Linked DNA regions of Homo sapiens: all the other regions are linked to region 1. Evidence: promoter capture Hi-C in 16 types of primary human blood cells and fetal thymus (Javierre and others, 2016). All regions are on one chromosome and are shown on one strand. Each heading gives the region's core, a stretch centred on a gene start or on the middle of the fragment in contact. The rest is flanking DNA. Distances are from core to core; before and after follow the strand shown. Region 1 holds the start of MED8-AS1 (MED8 antisense RNA 1). Region 2 overlaps ERMAP (erythroblast membrane associated protein (Scianna blood group)). Region 3 holds the start of CCDC24 (coiled-coil domain containing 24).

Region 1 (2,700 bases), core at 173-2,672:
ATCCATTCTGTTAGCCTTTTGTATTTAAGGCCAGCACTGAAGCAGTGGAGGAAATGGGCAAAGTAAGAAGAGAGAATTCTGAGATAGGCTTGGGGGTCCTCTGGCTCTTTTTCTGGGCTGTGAGGGAGTCTAGATGTTGCTGAATTCAGAACTCCAAACCCTGGCACTCATACTGGTCTTCCAGCTGCCACGTTCAGTCCTGCATCAGAAGCATACTTCAGGATCCCCATTACTTTTTCTTCAGGTCTCCGGCCGAACAAGCAGACCTTTAACCCTACAGACACTAATGCCTTGGTGGCAGCTGTTGCCTTTGGGAAAGGACTATCTAATTGGAGACCTTCAGGCAGCAGTGGTCCTGGCCAGGCAGGCCAGCCAGGAGCTGGGACGATCCTTGCAGGAACCTCAGGATTACAGCAGGTGCAGATGGCAGGAGCTCCAAGCCAGCAGCAGCCAATGCTCAGTGGGGTACAAATGGCTCAGGCAGGTCAACCAGGTAAGGTGGCAGGGGTTGAAATGAAGCTGACTTTGAGCAGGAGTGGGAGGGAATAAGCTAGATTATCTGGGCCTCCAGCATCTCTAGACCTAGAGGTTTTCTCTATTTCTCCTTTTCACTGTGACCCAGGAAATAATTTTCAGAAGTAAAAAAATCTCATCTGAGACTCTGCAACAGGCACCAGAGAGTGAGGAAGAACTTTGAGTAACAGAAACTGCTCCAATTTCTCATCCGCATCTCACATCTCTGTGTCAACTATCCTTCTATCCCATTTATTCTGGTATTAGATATGTTGTCAGTGTCTCTTGTTAGGTAGAGAAATCAGCAGTCAGATCTTAAGACCATTTGGTAGGTGCATCAGGAATTGACACGCAGGCCAGTTTTCCAGTCCTACATGTATTCTTTTCTCTGTATCCTGCCTCTCTTGCTCTTGGCTTCCTGCCTTCTCTCCTACTCATTTTTAGAACAGTCTAGATGCAGGCAGCTAGAAGAGTTATTTCCTCCAAGCTGTCTAGGAAAAGGGACAATTAAAGAGAGATTCTGCACTTATTATGATATAAAAAAAGAAAAACAATGAGAGAACATAGTACTCTTTTACCTGTGACGTTAAATGGGAGTCACACAGGTTTAGCTATCTGTTCTAGGAGTGGATGAACAGACTATTCTCCCATGTCACTTCTTTCCTCCTGGACACCTTCAGGGAGACAGCTGGGTGAAGAATCATACTTCTGACCTCTGTCAAACAGGGTCAGATGCCGCAGAGGTTCTGAGATGATAAAGGAAGTGACAGAGGGAACCTGAGGTACCACATTTCTGATTTGTCATGAAAGTCTTACCTTGCTTAAGATGACTTTTTTAATGTTCCTTTCAGGGAAAATGCCAAGTGGAATAAAAACCAACATCAAGTCGGCTTCCATGCATCCCTACCAGCGGTGAGTGTGGCTGGCAACCTCGACTCCCTGGTGCTCTTTGCAGAGTTGGGCAGTGAAATTACCTTTTGCTCAAGGCTCACCTAGATGGGTACAATAAAAAGAACATGGGCTTTCAGCAGCAGACAAATCCCACTTCCACCACTGACTAGCTGTGTGACCTTGGACAAGTGACCTAATTTTTCTGAGCCTGTTTCTCATTTGTAAATGGTGATAATACCTACCTCATAGGGTTGTTGTGAGGATTAAAATGAGGAAATGAATGTAAAGCACTTAGTACAGTATATGAAATAATGGGTATTCAATAAATGATAGTTTCTACAGATCCTTCTCCCCACCACCCTCCACAGTCCTTGATCCAGAACTTACCCTAATCTGATACTGCCTCACGTCAATGGTGAGCTGATGGACACAAGATCAAATAAGGCTATGCTTATTTTGTGCTGCCAGAAACTGTAGCAACCTCTGTGTTCTTAGAGGCACACTGTTTTTGCAGGCCCTCCTGCCTGGGTTTCATTCTGGCTATCCCTCTAAGGCGCAAGGTGAAGAAGCTTCTGGGCCAGGAAGGAAAAAAAAATGCCCACCTGCAGCTCTGGTGAAGCTTGGGCCTGCTCTCCTTTCCATCCTCTAAGGAGCCAACTTGGCTTTTACCTGTCAAATAGTCATAAAGTCCCCTATCCTTTACCCCACCTTATACACACGAGGCTTTCTCAGGAAGTGGCTCTGCCAGGCAGGACTATGTGGGAAAGGGTTTTTCCTTAGCACACGAAAAAGCCCCTTCCCCTGGATTCATGTTTCTTATTTTGGAGGGAGAAGGGAATTGCACTTCACACTGCCATCAGGGTTTAGTTGACCTCATAATGGTGCCCACTTTCTCGACTTTGGCCAGGATTTCCTTCAAAGAAAACGACTTTCCTTCATTTCCCTAAGCCTGTGGCCCAAATGGTGGACCAGAATGATGGTGGGAGGGGGCAACCCCCAGTAGCTTTGCCTGCTTTTATAAAGTTGAACAAATTGAATTTAGACATTCAGGCTAACCTGCCTTTCTTAGTACTCCTTTGTTGGCATGGGCAGGGGTTGAGTCAGCAGAAGTGGACCAAAGGATTCCTCTGAATAAAGTTATTTAAATTGATGTTCACTGGCTCAGGGTTGTCTGACAGTAATTTATGAGAGCACTACATAGGGATCAGAGGGGCAGTTTCAAGAGTGCTGCAAGGCAGTTCTAATTTGTTCTCCATAAAAAAGTTTCCGTATCTTTAATTAGCTTTGATCTAAAAA
Region 2 (2,700 bases), core at 27-2,526, 560 kb after region 1:
GGGAACCACTGAGTATGACTGACCGGGTAGGAGGCACGTTTGCCCCTCCACTCCCTTTTCCTCCAATGCTGCCAATAGTAATTCCCTCTGATGCGTTTTGATCCTATCACATTCTTTCTGAAAACCTTCCCCCTTTACTTTTCAAATCAGAGTAAATTGGAAGATTGGTTTCAAAGACATCCACCAATTAACCACCTTCTTTAACTCACTATCTTTATCTCCAGCTACACCCTGACATGTGCCTTCTGATAAGCAAGCTTGCTGTTTTCCAACATGTGATAAACGCTTCCCGCCTGTCTTGCTTTCATAATATCCTTAGCTGTATGTTCATAATCTCCATAATTATATCATTAACAATACATTACACATTTTTATGTCCTTTGAACTTTATAAAGATGGAGCCCATTGTACATAATTCCCAATTATTCCCTTTTTTTATTCAACATTAGCTTCTGAGTCTAGCAGACATCTGTGGTGGCCCACACCATGTCCCCTCAGCCCACCCAATTTTGGTGTAGCTGAGACTTGCAGGCAAGCTGCTAGCATGTCACCTCATAGGCCATGGCATTTTTCTGCTTGCCTGTCTTGGGGCTTTCTACAAAGCCTTGGAAGGCTGTGCAGCCCAGAAGTTCACCAAAGCTAACACCTCGGAGACATAAACAACAGTGAGAGGAGTCAAGACAAAATGCTCCAGGCTTGCACCTTCAGCTCTGAGCTGTATTCGACATGATTCCTCTGAGTGTTCCCAATGGGAGTGAGCACGGTGGTTCATAGTGGTAAGTAGCTCCGTACTGCACCTTTTATTGACTTTTCTTCCTTTTTTGCTCATTCCCATTTCTGCTTCCTGGGATTACCTCCTAAATACACTCTTGAACTGAAGTACTTGTCTCACACCTCACACTCTGTTCTGGGGGTGTACAAATTAAGACACTGAAATTAATCCAGGTTGTTTCACAGAGCACTAGGATATTCATTCACTGCTATATAGTAGACCATTATATAAATCTACCAACAGTTTCTCTCGTCCCTTAATGATAGAAATGTGGGTTGTTTCTGGGCTTTAGCTTTTATAAATAATACTGTCCTGAACATTCTTTTTTTTTTTTTGAGACAGAGTCTCGCTCCGTCGCCCAGGCTGGAGTGCAGTGGTACGATCTCGGCTCACTGCAAGCTCCGCCTCCTGGGCTCATGCCATTCTCCTGCCTCAGCCTCCGGAGTAGCTGGGACTACAGACGCCCGCCACCACGCCCAGCTATTTTTTTTTTTGTATTTTTAGTAGAGACGGGGTTTCACCGTGTTAGCCAGGATGGTCTTGATCTCCTGACCTTGTGATCCGCCCGCCTCGGCCTCCCAAAGTGCTGGGATTACAGGCGTGAGCCACCGCGCCCGGCCTCGTGCCCTGAACATTCTTGATAGGTATTTCCTGCTCACATGTGCAAGAATTTCTCTAGAGCACCAGTTCTTAATGTGTGGTCCACAAACACTTGAAGTCCCTGAGGCCCTATCATCCAGGTTAAAACTACATTCATCATAATAAAGACGTTATTTGCCTTTTTCACGGTATTGACATTTTCAAGGACACTGCAAAAGCAATAGTGGGTAAAACAGCTAGCACAAATCAGGAAGTGGCACCAAACTGTAGTAGAAGTTACAAATTTTATTAAATTTCAACTCTTAGATACACATCTTTTTAATAGTTTGTGTGACAAAATGGGAAGGATGCATAAACAGTTACGCTGCATATCAAAGTATGATGACTTTATCGAGGAAAAAACCTTAAGTGATTGAGTTGTGAGCTGAAGTAATCGCTTGACTCATGGAGCACCATTCTTACCTGAAAGTACAGCTGAAAGACAAAGTATAATTATTCAGACTTGGGTATTTGGCAGGCATTTTCTCCAAAATGAATAAAGTGCACCTGTCACTTCAGGAAAAGCAACTGACAGTGTTTGTTGTCAATGAGAACATTCAATCTTTTGAGCAAAAATTAGAATTTTGGAAAATTTTTATCTGCTGCTTGATACCCTCACAATAGCAAAAGACTTTTCTGATGAGATTGGCATTGATATTAATAAATGTGATTTTTTGATGTTGTATAATGAAATGTGTCAACATTTAGAAGATCTGTAAAACTCAGTGACTCAGCAATTTCCAAATGACCAATGGGTGTGTTGACAAAACCCTGCATGGGTAAAACATTCATTTAAAATGCAAGAAAAAACTGTGAGTGTTGCTGTAATAGAGTATAAAAAGGTCATTGCTATGGTTTCAGATTTCATGTCACAACTAAGCTTTAAAAAACTACCACTTGCTGAGTTTTGGTGTCTTATCAAAGAATATCCACGATTATCTGAAAAAGCTACTGAAATGCTCCTTTTCCAATTGCATACACTTCAACCACAAAACATACTGCAGCAGATTGAAAGATATAGCTGGCTTGAGAATACAGCTGTCTTCTATTAAGCCAGACATCTAAAATATTTATAGCCATTAAAAAGAATAAAATCCCATCATTCAAAGTGACATGGATGGAACTAGAAAACATTACGTTATATGAAATAAGTCAGGCACAGAAAGTTAAACACCACATGTTCTCACTCATAGTTAGATGTTAAAAAAAAAGAAAAAGTTAATCTCATAGAAGTGAAAAGCAGAACAGAGGTTACTAGAGGCTGGAGAGGGAAGGGGAGGATAGGGAGA
Region 3 (2,700 bases), core at 6-2,505, 610 kb before region 1:
ACTTTCTCCAGGAAGCTTTGCCTGTCCCCAGGCTAGGCAGGTGTTTCCTCTGGGTTTCAGTAGCCCTCATGGGCTGATAATCTCTATCACAAGTGGCGGTGGAAGTGCCCAGCCCGTGACTGGAATCTCCTGCATGGAGCCAGGTGCAACCCACCAGTGGGCTAGGGCCCTCTGCCAAGCAGGGACAGATCCCTCTCTCCTACCATCACCTTACCTGGGCCCACCACCTCTCATCTGGAATATCTCCTGTTCTGGCAAATCACACCTGGGCTCCTCCAAGGCAAAGTGCAGGACCCTGGGGCTATACTGGACCCAAGCTTGGGCCTGGTCCCTGCAGAAGGTGCACAGGAAGGAAGCTGAGAGGCTCCTTTCTGGAAACCACAGAAAAGGCAACCCTGGCTCCTTGTTAGGGGCAGCGCTAGCCCACCTGGTATCTAGGGAAAGGGCCCAGGCCTGAGGCTCCCACCTGCCCTCACAGATGGCTTTGTGGCGGAGACCCTGGAGCAACTGCCGGAGCTCCTGGCGCAAGAGGTCCTTTAGGAGAGGCGGTGGTGCCAGAAGAGAAGAGGGGTCAGAGATGGGGCGGGAGCTGGGGGCTTGAGAGGATCGAGCCTCTTGGAGCAGTGCCCGTAACATCGCCACCTGCAAGGAGAGCTGGGATACCTTGCGACTGGGGAGGGGAGTGTCCGGAATGGTGGGGGCTGGGGGAGTGAGGGAGAGGGCGGAGTCAAAGGGGAGACCAGGATAGGATCTCGGGAGTTACCCGGCAGGGCCAGGGACCCGCAGAGGTGGGAAATCACCCGAGTCGTGGGGCAGGCCAGGGGCGTGGCCCACCTTCCCTCTCCCCACCTCCGCCCGCAGCTCCAGGCTCAGGTCCACCGCCGCCTCCCCCAGAATCCTCTTCACTTCGCGTCGCTCCCGGAGCGGAACGTGCTCCTCCACCAGCTCCCACAGCGAGGGGGAGTGCCGGAGCATGACCCACCGACGCCGCCGTCCCCGGCTCGGACCTACGGGCCGCAGGTCAGAGTGCGGGAGGTACCGCGGGCCCGCCGGCAACGCTCACCAAACCCCGCCCCTCTATGGGCCCCGCCCTCTCCCAAGCCCCACCCGTGCTCTGCCGCTGGTCCCCTCGGCTGGGATTGCCCGTTCCGGAACTGCCAGTCCTTGGCGCTCTCTTCTGCCCGGCTTTTGGCCGACTCGGATGCCGGGGGCCCAGAAACCAGGCAGTGGGAACCAGGGCCCTAGCCCCACCTCTTCCGCGTGGCCATCACCCGGGAAACCACGCCGCGACTCTAGGGCCCCGCCCCCTCCCGTGTTTGGTCCGGCGGGCGGCGCGTGCCGGCTGGGAGTTCAGACTCACCTCGGCGCTCCACCGAGCCCTGACCCAAGCACTTTGGGCTCGGCCCTGGGCACCTTTAGGCCTCAGGGAACGTGTTAAGACCTGAGAAATCTGGGTCCACGGGTTTATTACTTCGTCGCCTCCACTGTCCCGGAAGCAGTGCAAGGACAAACTTCCCCTTAAGGCCAGTGAAAGCCTAGGGAGTGGCAGCGCTTGGAGAACCAGGATGGCCCGGGTCAGGTTTACTTGTTGGGCCAGGTTCCCCAAGTGCCCTTCCACCACAACACACTCAGGGTAACCACGTTCAGGGACCCGACCCCCACCCCCAAACAGACAAGGGAGCTGCTCCATTCACGTTTTTTACTAAAGCACCCACACAAGTTTCTGTGCAATGTACAAACACAAGCCGGCCCTGGGGCTCCTGCCTCCTCTCTCAGACAGGGAGGCGGGAACCAGACTTACTGATCCAAGCCCCACCTGCCTCCCATGCAAAGGCCAACCCCAAGATCCCAGGCAGCGACACAGCATCCCCTCTGGTCCCCTCCTGGGGCTGCTCCTCAGCAGGGGGCGCACCAAAGCTTGCCCCCTACAATGTTGAATGAAAAAGGTTTCCCCTCCCCTGGGAGCAAGGGGGTTCCCAAGAGCTGAGAATTCCCCCTGGAAGAGACACTGCCCCCTAGACATACCTCCCACCCTTCCAGGCCCTAGGGGACTCAAGGGGGGGAAACTGAGGCACAGAGAGGTGGAGTGACCTAGCCCAGGCCACTCTGCGAGGCAGTGCAGGGGCTGGCCCGACCCTGACAGTGACTGGGGCTGGGCTAGGGGGAGGGGGTCGGGAAGGAGGGTTGACTCCAAAGAGGGCCACACTTGAAGAGCCTGCCCAGGCAGGAGGCCCCCCAAAGTGGGTTCTGAAACTTCCAGGTGTAGCTAGGGGGCCTAGTGAAGACCCTTGGAAAACAGAGCCCAGTCTCAGTCCTGGAGGTCCTCCACAGAGCAGCTGCCAGCCAGGCTGTGGTCAGTCCTCTGGCAGGCAATCTTCGGCACCGAGAGCCTCTGTCCATTAGTGTCAGCCCCGAGGGGGCCACGACGGAGGCCGCCCAATGTCCACTGTGATATTGGTGAAGAGTGGTTGCCGAGACACCTCCAAGACCTGGTACCGCACTGACCCAATGCCGTCCCGCTTCATGGTCAGCTTCGTGTTTTGAATCTTGGTAAACCTAGATAGGATGGAAATGGTCCACATCAGGGCTAACAACTGTAAACTAAAAATAAAATCCTACACCCCCCAACCAACTAAATGGACCCCCTTTTGGCCAAGGGGACCCCAGGGAACCTTAAAAACAGGGTTTCCAGCTATGATG

Evidence for each region. The method cuts DNA at HindIII sites, captures the fragments that hold promoters and counts their contacts. A CHiCAGO score of 5 or more calls a contact.
Region 2: a contact is called between a fragment that was not itself captured here and the fragment with the promoter of MED8-AS1 in region 1, in 1 of 17 cell types (erythroblasts). The highest score is 6.9, in erythroblasts.
Region 3: a contact is called between the fragment with the promoter of CCDC24 here and the fragment with the promoter of MED8-AS1 in region 1, in 1 of 17 cell types (total B cells). The highest score is 5.1, in total B cells.

The regions. Positions count from the first base shown.
Region 1 is chr1:43,383,771-43,386,470 of GRCh38, reverse strand. It overlaps MED8-AS1 (MED8 antisense RNA 1), which reads right to left and starts at 1,422. Exons shown (of 2, transcript XR_001738027.1): 1 at 1,330-1,422; 2 at 745-1,187. MED8 (mediator complex subunit 8) reads left to right here. Exons shown (of 7, transcript NM_201542.5): 6 at 245-493; 7 at 1,365-2,554. The coding sequence ends at 1,429. The HindIII fragment of the contact is 5,225 bases long and covers 1-1,975 here.
Region 2 is chr1:42,822,755-42,825,454 of GRCh38, reverse strand. The region is part of intron 1 of ERMAP (erythroblast membrane associated protein (Scianna blood group)); the gene reads right to left. Among named protein-coding and RNA genes, the nearest start is that of SVBP, 6.7 kb to the right of the region's middle. The HindIII fragment of the contact is 2,034 bases long and covers 260-2,293 here.
Region 3 is chr1:43,990,154-43,992,853 of GRCh38, reverse strand. It overlaps CCDC24 (coiled-coil domain containing 24), which reads right to left and starts at 1,255. Exons shown (of 9, transcript NM_152499.4): 1 at 1,108-1,255; 2 at 850-1,007; 3 at 467-642; 4 at 215-331. The coding sequence starts at 975. B4GALT2 (beta-1,4-galactosyltransferase 2) reads right to left here. Exons shown (of 7, transcript NM_003780.5): 7 at 1,686-2,556. The coding sequence ends at 2,406. RefSeq lists silencers at 802-851, 992-1,101. The HindIII fragment of the contact is 1,600 bases long and covers 320-1,919 here.